2 separate regions of the Homo sapiens genome follow, and region 2 is linked to region 1. The links are contacts of gene promoters, found by promoter capture Hi-C in blood cells and fetal thymus (Javierre and others, 2016). All regions are on one chromosome and are shown on one strand. The core of a region is centred on a gene start or on the middle of the fragment in contact, and the rest is flanking DNA. Distances in the headings are between cores, read along the strand shown. Region 1 holds the start of GUCY2C-AS1 (GUCY2C antisense RNA 1). Region 2 has its middle 110 kb from the start of ATF7IP.

The links. Contacts are between HindIII fragments. The CHiCAGO score rates a contact against its expected background, and 5 or more counts as called.
Region 2: a fragment that was not itself captured here is called in contact with the fragment with the promoter of GUCY2C-AS1 in region 1 in 11 of 17 cell types (naive CD8 T cells, naive CD4 T cells, total B cells and 8 more); the score reaches 12.4 in naive CD8 T cells.

The regions. Positions count from the first base shown.
Region 1 is chr12:14,663,258-14,669,048 of GRCh38, reverse strand. It overlaps GUCY2C-AS1 (GUCY2C antisense RNA 1), which reads right to left and starts at 3,413. Exons shown (of 6, transcript NR_186173.1): 1 at 3,352-3,413; 2 at 3,036-3,190; 3 at 903-1,020. The region is part of intron 10 of GUCY2C (guanylate cyclase 2C); the gene reads left to right. The HindIII fragment of the contact is 1,745 bases long and covers 2,700-4,444 here.
Region 2 is chr12:14,249,591-14,256,031 of GRCh38, reverse strand. It overlaps the pseudogene RNU6-491P and the pseudogene GNAI2P1. Among named protein-coding and RNA genes, the nearest start is that of ATF7IP, 110 kb to the left of the region's middle. RefSeq lists an enhancer at 6,124-6,441. The HindIII fragment of the contact is 4,306 bases long and covers 79-4,384 here.

The sequences.
Region 1 (5,791 bases), core at 2,164-4,663:
TTTTACTGCAATAAGCTAAAAGGTTGTGTATTTCAGCAAGAAATACTTGACATATCAGGCTGAGGGGTGACCAGTGATCCTGGCCTTTACAGTCTCCCCTGTTCCCATACTGGACACATATTTGGGTTGCAATGATAGTTACCCACCTACTTAAGATTAGGTCCTATCATGTCATGAATAGCCCTAACATGACTTGGCCAGCTTTCACCCGTGCAAGCTGCACACTCACCATCAGCAGCAGGCAGGGCCACTCAGGATCTCCTGGGCAACGAGGCCTCAGGACAATCTGTCCATGACTGGCTTGGCCAGGGCTTGCCATAATGAGTGGTAATTCCATGTGACTAGGAAAAATCTTTAAGAAAAAGTCTTAAATCTGGACAGATATTTAGCCCAAAGATTTAAAAAAAAAAAAAAAAGTAGAAATACCATCAATAAAATTATTTAGAGCCAAGCGTGGTGGCTCATGCCTGTAATCCCAGCACTTTGGGAGACTGAGGTGGGAGGATTGCTTGAGGCCAGAAGTTCAAGATAGCCTGGGCAACACAGTGAGATCCCATCTCTACAAACATTTATAAATTAAGGCTGGGAGTGGTGGCTCACGCCTGTAATCCCAGCACTTTGGGAGGCTGAAGTGGGTGGATAACGAGGTCAGCAGTTCGAGACCAGCCTGACCAACATGGTGAAACTCCGTTTCTACTAAAAATACAAAAATTAGCTGGGCATGATGGTGCGTGCCTATAATCCTAGCTACTCAGGAGGCTGAGGCAGGAGAATCGCTTGAACCCAGGAGGCAGAGGTTGTTGTAAGCCAAGATCACGCCACTGCACTCCAGCCTGGGGAACAGAGCAAGACTCCGTCTCAAAAATATATATATATAAATTAGTGGACATAGAGGTGCATACCTGTGGTCCCAGCTACTCAGGAGGCTGAGGTGGGAGGATCACTTGAGCCCAGTAAGTTGGGGCTGCAGTGAGCCATGATTGTGCCACTGCACTCCAGCCTGGATGACAGAGCAAGACCCTGCCTCAAAAAAAAAAAAAAAAAAAAAAGAAAATTATTATATATTCACAAATGGAGCATCAGGCAACCAATTAAAAATAATTATTTATGAAGAATGTTAAATGACATGGGAAAACTTATGATGTAAAGTAATAGAAAAGTACAGCTTCTTATTTAATGAGATTCTAACTTTGTAAAACAATGCATAGAAATAAGACTGGAAAGAAATATGTTAAACTGTTAAGAGTGGTGTCCTCTGACTGATGGGATCCTGCAAGATTTTTTTTGCTTTATTCTATTTTTCTGAATTTTCCAAAATTTCCACAATGACTCTGTATTAGTTTCTTATTTTCAAAAAGTATTAAAAATTATAAGCTACAAATATTTTTATACCAGCCCCGCTCTACAGCCAGAAACTCTGAAAATTTGATCTGATATAAAGGGAACATTTCTGGTTTGAAGGGCTTGCTTGTGTCAGAGCTATACCTGCGTTTCTAGTTTTCTTTCACTCCATGAGTCAAATTAAGTCCAAAATGATTCCTGTACTTTTATCCAACAGGTATTAGCAGCTGATTAACGAAATGAGGGAGGGGGGAATGAAGATGGCATTCTTCTAGACAATAAGCAATCCTGAGCTGACTTCAGATTTATTGCTATGATTGCTTTTTAAAGTCGAGTTTTATTTAATAAGCTTTTAAAACTTTCTGGAACCATCTTCAAGCTTTCTAGTTTTAAACCAAACTTGACTTCTGAAATATATCTCTTTTCTCATGGGCTTCTGCAACTCTCAACTTCTTTTGTAACTTTTTGAGTTCAAATTATTTTTTCTTTCTTCTTAATTATAACTGTCAGTGACAAAGTTAGGTTTGTGTTTTTAATGTATTTCCTTCAAGTTTTTTGGTATTTTGGTTATTCAATAGGTCTGTGATTTCTAAAGTGCTGAACTTCTCAAAAAGTACTTTTTGAGAGAGTTCTCTTTACTTAAAGAGAACTGACTTCCTCAATGGTTGAACTAGTTTACAGTCCCACCAACAGTGTAAAAGTGTTCCTAAAGTGAACATTAAATATTCATACTATATCCTACAGGGACGTTATATTATCCTGAGCAACTTTACTTCAGCCTCAGTTAACTAACAACCTCAGTTAGCCAGAGCTTTTCAATACTTAACTGTTACTTACTACATTTAGCTCTAAACTTTACCAATGAAGCAATAATATAGGAGTTAAAAAGAAATTATTTAGGCAGGTAGCGAGGGTACAGGAGTCCTCAGTAAGGCTTTTTCTTTTCTTTTCTTACTCTTTTTTTTTTTTTTTGGAGACATTGTCTGGCTGTATCACCCAGGCTGGAGTACAGTGGTGCAATCTTGGCTCACTGCAACCTCTGCCTCCCGGATTCAAGCGATTCTCCTGCCTCAGCCTCCCGAGTAGCTGGAATTACAGGTGTTTGCCGCCACGCCCGGCTAATTTTTGTATTTTTAGTAGAGACGGGGTTTCGCCATGTTGGGCTGGCTGGTCTGGAACTCCTGACCTCACGTGATCCGCCTGCCTCGGCCTCCCAAAGTTCTGAGATTACAGGCATGAGCCACGGCGCCCAGCCAGGCATTTTCTTTTAATTGAAAACAGTCTCCAAACCATTTCTTTTCTAGCAAAAAGCAGCCTGAAAAGCTGAACTGCAAGCATAAATAAGCAAGCTGGAAGCTTGCGTAGATGAATGCCCGCAGCTGTACTAAAAGCCAGGTCCACCCAATATAGCGATTTCCCCTCCCTTTTCTTTGTAGCCATGTGTGGGGGTGTCATTGTGCCGGCCGGGTAAAGCCACATGTGTGGGTGTCATGGCGCCAGCCAGGTAGAGGCCGCATTTGCATAATAAAAGATTAGGGTGAGAGGGCCAGTTTCTTCAGGGCTATGTAAATGGCACACTGGTCAAACCAATCCCCTGGGCCCTATATAAATCAGACACCGCCTCCTGAAGCCTCCCTATATAACCTACTGCTTCCCACCACAAGCATGGTTTTTTCCCTTCAGAGCCCTCCTACCTCTCTACCGGTGAGCTGTTCTCTTCTTTCCTGCCTATTAAACTTTCCGCTACTTGACCCGCTCCGTGTTTGCGTCTGTGTCCTTAATCTTCTCGTCACGCGATGACGAACCTTGGGTATGTCCCCAGACAATGAAGCCGCTTCAGCAACTCAACCTTTGAAATAGTATAGAAATACGATATGCATGACTGGAACTTGCATCTGTGTGTACACAGCTACTAAGTAACAAAACATTTCACCAAGAGATTACACCATCCCTGTTCTTTCATTTATTTAACAAAGATATTTATTTAATGCCAGACAATGTTCTGAGCACCTGGGAAATAGCAATGGACAATGCAGATTTGGTGCCCGTCCTCATCCAAGTCCTCAGCATCTGCTTCCTGTATCACAAAAATGACGTCAAACTGACTTCCTGCATTAGTCCTGCCCACTTCCATCCAACCCATCCTGCTATCAGAAAGAAAGCACAAGTCCAATCATGTCACTGCACTGTTGCTAACATGTCAATTGGCAACTCTGCTTTACCTACAGAATACAGTCCAAGTTACTTAATACAGCACAAAGTGCCCGTAATCTCCCTACTTATCTTTTACTCACCTATCCCTTCCCCATGCTCTCAGCTTCCTCCCTACTTCCTTAAAGCGTCATGCAAATTTATGCCGCTGTGTCCTTATTTATGCTACTCCCTCGGAATAGAATTTATCACTTCTCCATAGAGGTGGGAAACATCTACTCATCCTCAAGATTTAACCGGAATCTCAACTTTCCTTAGCTTTTTTTTTTTTTTTTTTTCCTGAGACGGAGCCTCGCAGTGTTGCCCGGCCTGGAGTGCAGTGGCCCAATCTCGGCTCACTGCAACTTCCGCCTCCCAGGTTCAAGAGATTCTCCTGCCTCAGCCTTCCAAGTAGCTGGAACTGATTACAGGCACCTGCCACCGCGGCCGGCTAATTTTTATGTTTTTAGTGGAGACGGGGTTTCACCATGTTGGCCAGGCTGGTCTCGAACTCCTGACCTCGTGATCCACCCGCCTTGGCTTCCCAAAGTGCTGGGATTACAGGTGTGAGACACCGCGCCCCCTCAGGGCTTATTCTTATTCATATTTCCTTGCCCCAACACAGTGCCTTGGAATGAATAAATGAATGAATGAATGAATGAATGAATGACAACATGAGATAACTGAATATATTTCTACTCTGGACTCCAGCACTCATCTATACTCTGTTAATTTCAGTCAATTTATTTCTCTTTTCTAAGTGTGAGTTTCTTCCCCTGTTAAATCAAGAAGTTTATCAGGTTCCTTCCAACCGTAATATCATATGACCTTGAGGTTATAAACTCTCATTCATTGTGAGATGAGTTAAATAGAATGTGATAACTACAGCAGCCACCAGAAGGCAGCAGAAGCTTAACCTTGGAATTTAGAACTTGATACTGCGTTTATCTAAAAGGCAAAACTGAAAAGCATGTTTAATTAAAAATGACTACATTTAAATAGTATATTTAAATACTATATATAAATATTATAATTATATCTAATACAGTGAGATGTTCATACTGTAGGAGGCAGAGAATTGAGGTGGGCTGAGGAGTCCCCATATTCCCTCCAGTTTATACTCTAGTCTAGGGGATGTGCAATTTTGATAGACCAGTGAGTGGGATTATCTACACTGTTGAAAATGTATTTCTTGTACTCACTTTCGTTTTCTGGGGTTTAGGGCGTGAGAATGGTGGGAGTGGCAATAGTGGTGATAGTGATGGAAGTGGTGATTGTAGTAACAAACAGAATTCACCAGTTAAATGTGCCCATAATGCAAGTTCAACTCCAAAGTATGAATTTATTTCTGCCCCGATGAGAGTAGAAATCCAAAGTTCACATTTTCACCATTGAAAATTTCCCATGAACACAAAACAAGGTAATAGAGGCAAAGTCACATGTCTGCAAAGCATAAACCCTTCAAATTCAGCCCTTATACAAAGGAGCTGTAGTGTTTACCCCAAGCTAAACCATCTACTTCAGAAGGACATAATATGATTAAACAAAAACAGTTTTAAAATACATATGACATGAGACCCCTAATGGCACAGGAGTCTTTCTATATGAATTTATTTATGTATTTTAATGTCCAAGCACCTTCTCCTTGCCTCTTCTCAGGCAATAAGATGACCAGGGCCAGGTTTTTCTTCTATTATTTTTTATTAGCCATTTTTATTGATACTTTACCAGGTCTTGTGCTGGGTGCCAAAGGTGTAAGGATGAACAGGAATGAATAAGTAGGACATGGACTGTGCCCCCAGGAGTTTAGATTATGGTGTCATGATAGAGAATACAGTGTGAAGGTTTAGGATTCTGCTTTCATAAAGAAGTCCTAAAACCTCATTTTCGGGGCACCTACATCAATTATATTTTAGCACAGAAAAATTCACACATGGCTGGGCACAGTGGCTCACGCCTGTAATCCCAGCACTTTGGGAGACCAAGGTGGGCTGATCACCTGAGGTCAGGAGTTCGAGACCAGCCTGGCCAACGTGATGAAACCCCACCTCTACTAAAAATACAAAAAATTAGCTGGACATGGTGGCGTGCGCCTGTAATCCCAGATACTTGGGAGGCTGAGGCAGGAGAATCTTTGAACCTGGAGGGTGGAGGTTGCGGTGAGCCGAGATCGTGCCATTGCATGCCAGCCTGGGCAAAAAGAGCAAAACTCTGTCTCAGAAAAATAAAAAGAAAAATTCACACACATGATTTTAAAATC
Region 2 (6,441 bases), core at 982-3,481, 410 kb after region 1:
TCTCCACCCTCCCCCCCCACCCCTTATTCCTCTCTCCTTTCACTGTCCTCTGAGTTCCTCCTACCCTCTGGTCAAGCTTTGCCTTCCTCAGAGGCCTTCCTGAATGCTTGGTCCAAAGTAAATTCCTTATACCTTCTTATCATCTTACATGGCAACCTCTTTTTTTCTGTTGTAGCACCACTGTAACTTACAATTATATATATTTGTTTTCTTGTACATTGGCTCTCCCCCTTCACCCGCAACTAGCTTTCTAAGTACCCTTGGGCCGTGTCTGTCTGATCAAAACTGTATAACAAGCATAGGACCTGGCAAAATGTTAGCAAGGAGCAAATATTTGTTGAACAGATTAATTAAATTCAAATATTATTTCTCTGGTCCCAGTCCACTACTTTCTGGCTTCTTCTTTTATACCAGTTAGTTCTTTTACGATTCAGTCTGTTTTCTTACTCTTGTGAACTTTCAGGAACAACTGATTTATTTCAGGGTTCCTCTTTACATAATGAGAGCTACTGAGTAGAATAGAATCTTCACAGCTTCTGGGGGGTACCAGAAAGATGCCCAGAAAGGGGGTACCATGGCCATTACTGGCACCTCAGACAAGGGCAGGCTTCAAACAGGGAGGCCTGTGGCAACCCCTCCCCTATGTCTGAAGCTGAGGGGATGGGGGAGCTAAGAACAAAGGAAAGAAGAGAAAAGTGTCCAGGGAACAGGTGGGGACCATGGTCTTCTTGCCCCATCTTCCTCAGGGGTTGGGGGGTACAGAGTTGGTGGTGGCCCATCCTGCTAGGTCCCACTGCCCCTCAGAAGAGGCCCCAGTCCTTCAGGTTGTTCTTGATGATGACGTCGGTGATGGCATCAAACACGAACTACGTTCTTGGTATCGGTGGCGCATGTGAAGTGTGTGTAGATCTCCTTGGTGTCTTTGTGCTTATTCAGGTCCTCAGACTTACTCTGGTTGTAGCTGGCTGCCTCATCATACTTGTTGGACCCTGTGTACTCAGGGAAGCAGATGGTCAGGGGCTGTGTGTGATCTTCTCCTCCAACAGCTCCTTCTTGTTGAGGAAGTAGATGATGGACGTGTTTGTGAACCACTTGTTGCAGATGCTGTCAAACAGCTTTTATCCCCTAAGAAAAGACACACTAGTCTTATAATTCTTACCGTCTGTGTTTTCTCATCTGTAGTACTTGATTTTACTCTGAGATGGAATTCAACTTGGGTTTTGGTTTCTGAGTCTGGAGTCATGCACATGGTTTTCCCCCTTCCATCTTTATCAAAACTGTCCCTATCACCAGAGGGAAAGGATTTACCAATTCCTCCTTTAAAAGAGTATCCTGGCGGCCAGGCCTGGTGGATCATGCCTGTAATTCCAGCACTTTGGGAGGCCGAGGTGGGTGGATCACCCGAAGGTCAGGAGTTCGAGACCAGCCTGGCCAACATGGAGAAACCCTCATCTCTACTAAAAATACAAAAATTAGCCAGGGGTGGTGACGGGCGCCTGTAATCTCAGCTACTCGGGAGGCTGAGACAGGAGAATTGCTTGAACCCGGGAGGTAGAGGTTGCAGTGAGCTGAGATCATGCCATTGCACTCCAGCCTGGGCAACAAGATTGAAACTTCGTGTCACACACACACACACACACACACACACAACGGGCATGGTGGCTCACGCCTGTAATCCCAGCACTTTGAGAGGCCAAGGTGGGCCGATCATGAGGTCAGGAGATTGAGACCATCCTGGCTAACACAGTGAAACCTCACCTCTACTAAAAATACAAAAACTTAGCTGGGTGTGGTGGCATGCACCTGTAGTCCCAGCTACTAGGAGGCTGACGCAGGAGAATTGCTTGAACCCAAGAGGTGGAGGTTGCGGTGAGCCGAGATCGCGCCACTGCACTCCACACTCCAGCCTGGGTGACAGAGCGAGACTCTGTCCCAAAAAAAAAAAAAAAAAAAAAATGGATCCTAGCTGGGCGAGGTGGCTCACGCCTGTAATCCCAGCACTTTGGGAGGCTGAGGTGGGTGGATCGCTTGAGGTCAGGAGTTTGAGACCAGCCTGGCCAACATGGCAAAACCCCGTCTCTACTAAAAATATAAAAATTAGCTGGGCATGGTGGTGGGTGCCTGTAATCTGAGCTACTAGGGAGGGGATACAGGAGAATCGCTTGAACCCGGCAGGCAGAGGTTGCACTAAGCTGGGATCGTGCCACTGCAGTCCAGCCTGGGTGACAGAGCAAGACTCAGTCTCAAAAAAAAAAAAAAAGATTCTACTCCTGGCCAGGGACTCATCCAAGCAGAAGTCTAATGCCACAGAATTTCAAGTAGGCAATTTGCATCTCTGAAAACCTTCAGATGAGAGAGAGAGAGAGGGGCCACCAATTCACTGGATTTCAGCCCAACACAAGAGTAATGTCTTTGGGGCTTTTTTTTTTTTTGAGACAGGGTCTCACTCTGTCACTGATGCTAGCTAGAGTGCAGTGGCCTGATCCTGGCTCCCTGCAGCCTTGACTTCTGGGCTCAAGTGATCCTCTCACCTCAGCCTCCAGAGTAGCTGGGACTATAGGCATGCACCATCACACTTGGTTATTTTTTTCTATTTTTCTTTTTTTTTTTGAGACAGAGTCTCACTTTGTTGCCCAGGCTGGAGTGCAGTGGTGCAATCTCTGGTCACTGTAACCTCCACCTCCCTGGTTCAAGCGATTCTCCTGCCTCAGACTCCCTAGTAGCTGGGATTACAGGTGCCTACCACCAAGCCTGGCTAATTTTTGTATGTTTAGTAGAGATGGGCTTTCGCCATGTTGACCAGGCTGGTCTTGAACTCCTGACCTCAAATGATCCACCCGCCTGGGCCTCCCAAAGTGCTGGGATTACAGGCATGAGCCACCATGCCTGGCCTATTTATTTTTTTATTTTTTCACAGAGACAGGGTCTCTCTGTGTTGCTCTGGCTGCCCTCAAACTCCTGGCTTCAAGTGACTCCTACCTCTGCCTCCCAGTGAGGTGGGATCACAGGCATGAGCCACTGTGCCCTGCCTGGAGCATTTCTTCACCTAAGCAAATTAGCTGTTCTAAAAGCTGTGCTAGGTGTTGGAGGACATTTGAAGCACAGCTTTATTGTGTATTTATTGCAAGGTTTTGATTGACTCGTTGTGAAACTGGTAGGATTTCCCTAACTGACTACAAAATTCTGTGACTTTCACTTCTTTTTTTTTTTTTTTTTTTTTTTGGGATGGAGTTTCGCTCCTGTTGCCCAGGCTGGAGTGCAATGGCACGATCTCAGCTCACCACAACCTCCGCCTCTGGCGTTCAAGAGATTCTCCTGCCTCAGCCTCCCGAGTAGCTGGGATTACAGGCATGCGTCACCACACCCGGCTAATTTGTGTTTTTAGTAGAGACAGTTTCTCCATGTTGGCCAGGCTAGTCTCGAACTCCTAACCTCAGGTGATCTGCCCACCTCAGCCTCCCAAAGTGCTGGGATTACAGGCGTGAGCCACCACGCCCGGCTGACTTTCACTTCTTTTAACTGGTTCAGGGTAATCAATAGTTGAGAGACCGAATATTGAGGTCAGAAAAACTCAAAGCTCTGAAGCCGTGGTTTCCTCATCTATTTTGTTTTTTCATCTATAAAAATATCTCTATAAAGTTGTAATAATCATTATAAGAGCAATTACATAGCAATACTTTGTGCCAGTTTACTGTTATGATATATATGTATATATAGTATGTATAAACCACATTGTATATATAAACTGTTTTCCTCATAGCCACCCTTTGGAGAAGGTACAATTGTTCCCATTTTATTTTTATTTTTTATAGTTAGGATCTCTGTCTGTTGCTCAGGCTGGAGTATAGTGGTGCAGTCATAGCTCACTGTGGCCTTGAACTCCTGGGCTCAAGTGATCTTCCTGCCTCAGCCTCCAGAGTAGCTCAGACTGCAGGCTTGTACCACTGCTTCTGGCTAATTTTTAGATTTTTAGTAGAGAGGAAGTCTTGCTATGTTGCCTAGGCTGGTTTTGAACTCCTGGACTCAAGTGATCCTCTCGCCTCAGCCTCCCAAAGTGCTGGGATTACAGGCGTGAGCCCCTGTGCCTGGCCCATTGTTCCCATTTTCTGCTGGGGACAAGGAAACACAGAGAAGTTAGGTAACTTGCCCAAGGTCACACAGCTAGTAGAAGGCAGAACACAAACACAAACCCAGGATGCTTGAGTCTCTACTTTAAAAATCCTAGTGCTAATTACCTGGCACAAGATAAGTGTTGTTAAATCTTAGTTTCTTTTTATATCCTCCCTTGAACTTTCACGAAAAATGGTTATTCCTTCTTCAAAGTATCTTAATACAAAATTAACCCCCTGCCTTTTCAGATGAGGAAACGGAACTCCAGAAAGCTTGAACCATGTGTTTTGTGTGGCCAGATAGGACTAGATCCTAGCTCTCCTGCCTAATCTGGGAAGGAATAATGGTTCTCCATATTATTGTGTTCCATCTACTTCCTTCCTTAAGTATGGTTTTGTTCTTGTTATTTTTGTACCATTTTTGAAAAGAAAGGAAAATAATTTCCTTCCTGAATCTCACTCTTATCTCCAAATTGTTTTCTGCAATTAAATAACACTCGCCGTGCTGACAGAGGCATAACTAAATGGAATGTGCTGCTTTTCTACCAGAGTGCACAAAGGGAGTGAGCAAGAGTCTATCACTGCCAAAGTGAGGAGAGGAAGACTAGTTGGCATTCATTTTCTTTCTCTCTTTTCCATCTTCATCCCTTCCCTCCTTGTTTCTGCCTCCAGCTCTCTTTTCCCTTACCTGGATTAGGAGTATGGGACTATTGCTGGTGTCACCCTAATAAAAATTCAAAGATAGGTTAATAAGAGATAGTGCCCAGAGATGGGTAGTAAGCTAGGGTGTCAGTAGCTGCTGCCTGGTCTCTTTTTTTTGAGACAGGGCCTCACTCTGTCACTCAGGCTGGATGGTAGTGGCGCTATTAAGGCTCACTGCAGCCTCAACCTCCTGGGCTCAAGCAATTCTTCTACCTCAGCCTCCCTAGTAGCCGGGACTACAGGCACATTGCCATCATGCCCAGATAATTTTTGATTTTCAGTAGAGATGGGGGGTCTCACTATGTTGCCCAGGCTGATCTAAAACTCTTGGGCTCAAGTGATCCTCCCGCCTCAGCCTCCCAAAGTGTTGAGATTACAGGTGTGAGCCACCATGCCCAGCTTTGCTGCCTAGTCTTTTCTTGTCTCTGAATGAAAACAGAGAAAGCCCCGAATTCCTGTCTTTATTGTGTCATCATCTCAATACATGCCTTTGCATAATTTAGTTAACCTGTACTAGCCATCCATGATTTTCTCAACTTTGTATGAAATACTATCTTTCCTATTATCTGCTCTCAAAGAATTTTGGCTTGGCCATGAAATAGTACAGTGACAATGACAATGTTCAAGAGATCATGGTGTTTTGTTTTATTTTGTTTGGCTTAAATAAAAATTCTCAGAAGTATCACATATATGTCTATAGTTGCAAAAGTGCAACATAGCTTTATAGTCTTTGAATAGCACTATTCTAAAAGGCCTTATGATTTTGGAACCTATAGCTAAATAATATATTTGATCATCCTGAAACATCTATTGCACAAAAATGAAAGGAAAACAGGATTACCACAGTAAAAAAATACCGTTTTCAAAACAGAAGAAACAATGCTTGCTTCAACAGCACATATACTAAAATTGGAATTACACAGAGATGATTAGCATTGTCCCTCTGCGGGGATTACGTGCACGTCATTTGTGAAGCATTCCATATTAAAAAAAAGAAAGGTTTGAGGTGGTCATTAGAATAGAGTTCCTCTCTTTTTTTTTCTTTAGCAGAAACCTTTTGGGAAGGTTTGGGGGCTTTGGGTATTGATTGGCTTAGATGCTGAGTAATCATAGGTCTTTGTTTGCTAGGCTCAGGTTTTTTTTTTTTTTTTGACAGAGTTTCGCTCTTGCTGCCCAGGCTGGAATACAATGGCGTGATCTTGGCTCACTGCAACCTCTGCCTCCCGGGTTCAAGCGATTTTCCTGCCTCAGCCTCCCGAGTAGCTAGGATTACAGGCATGCACTACCATGGCTGGCTAATTTTGTATTTTTAGTAGAGACAGGGTTTCTCCATGTTGGTCAGCCTGGTCTCGAACTCCCAACCTCAGGTGATCCGCCCACCTCGGCCTCCCAAAGTGCTGGGATCACAGGTGTGGGCCACTGCGCCTGGCCAGGCTTAGGGTTTCTAAAGCAATATAACTTACATATAATGTTAGTACTTTTTTGTTTTCTATTCACATTCCCCAAGGTTATAACCAAAACCAGAATTCTTTTTATCTTGTTTCTTAGAACAAACCAGTGCTTGGGCCGTCCACTACTTTGTAGCTTGTTGACCTCTATCATGGCCGTATCCGAGGTGGAGAGGCAGAGT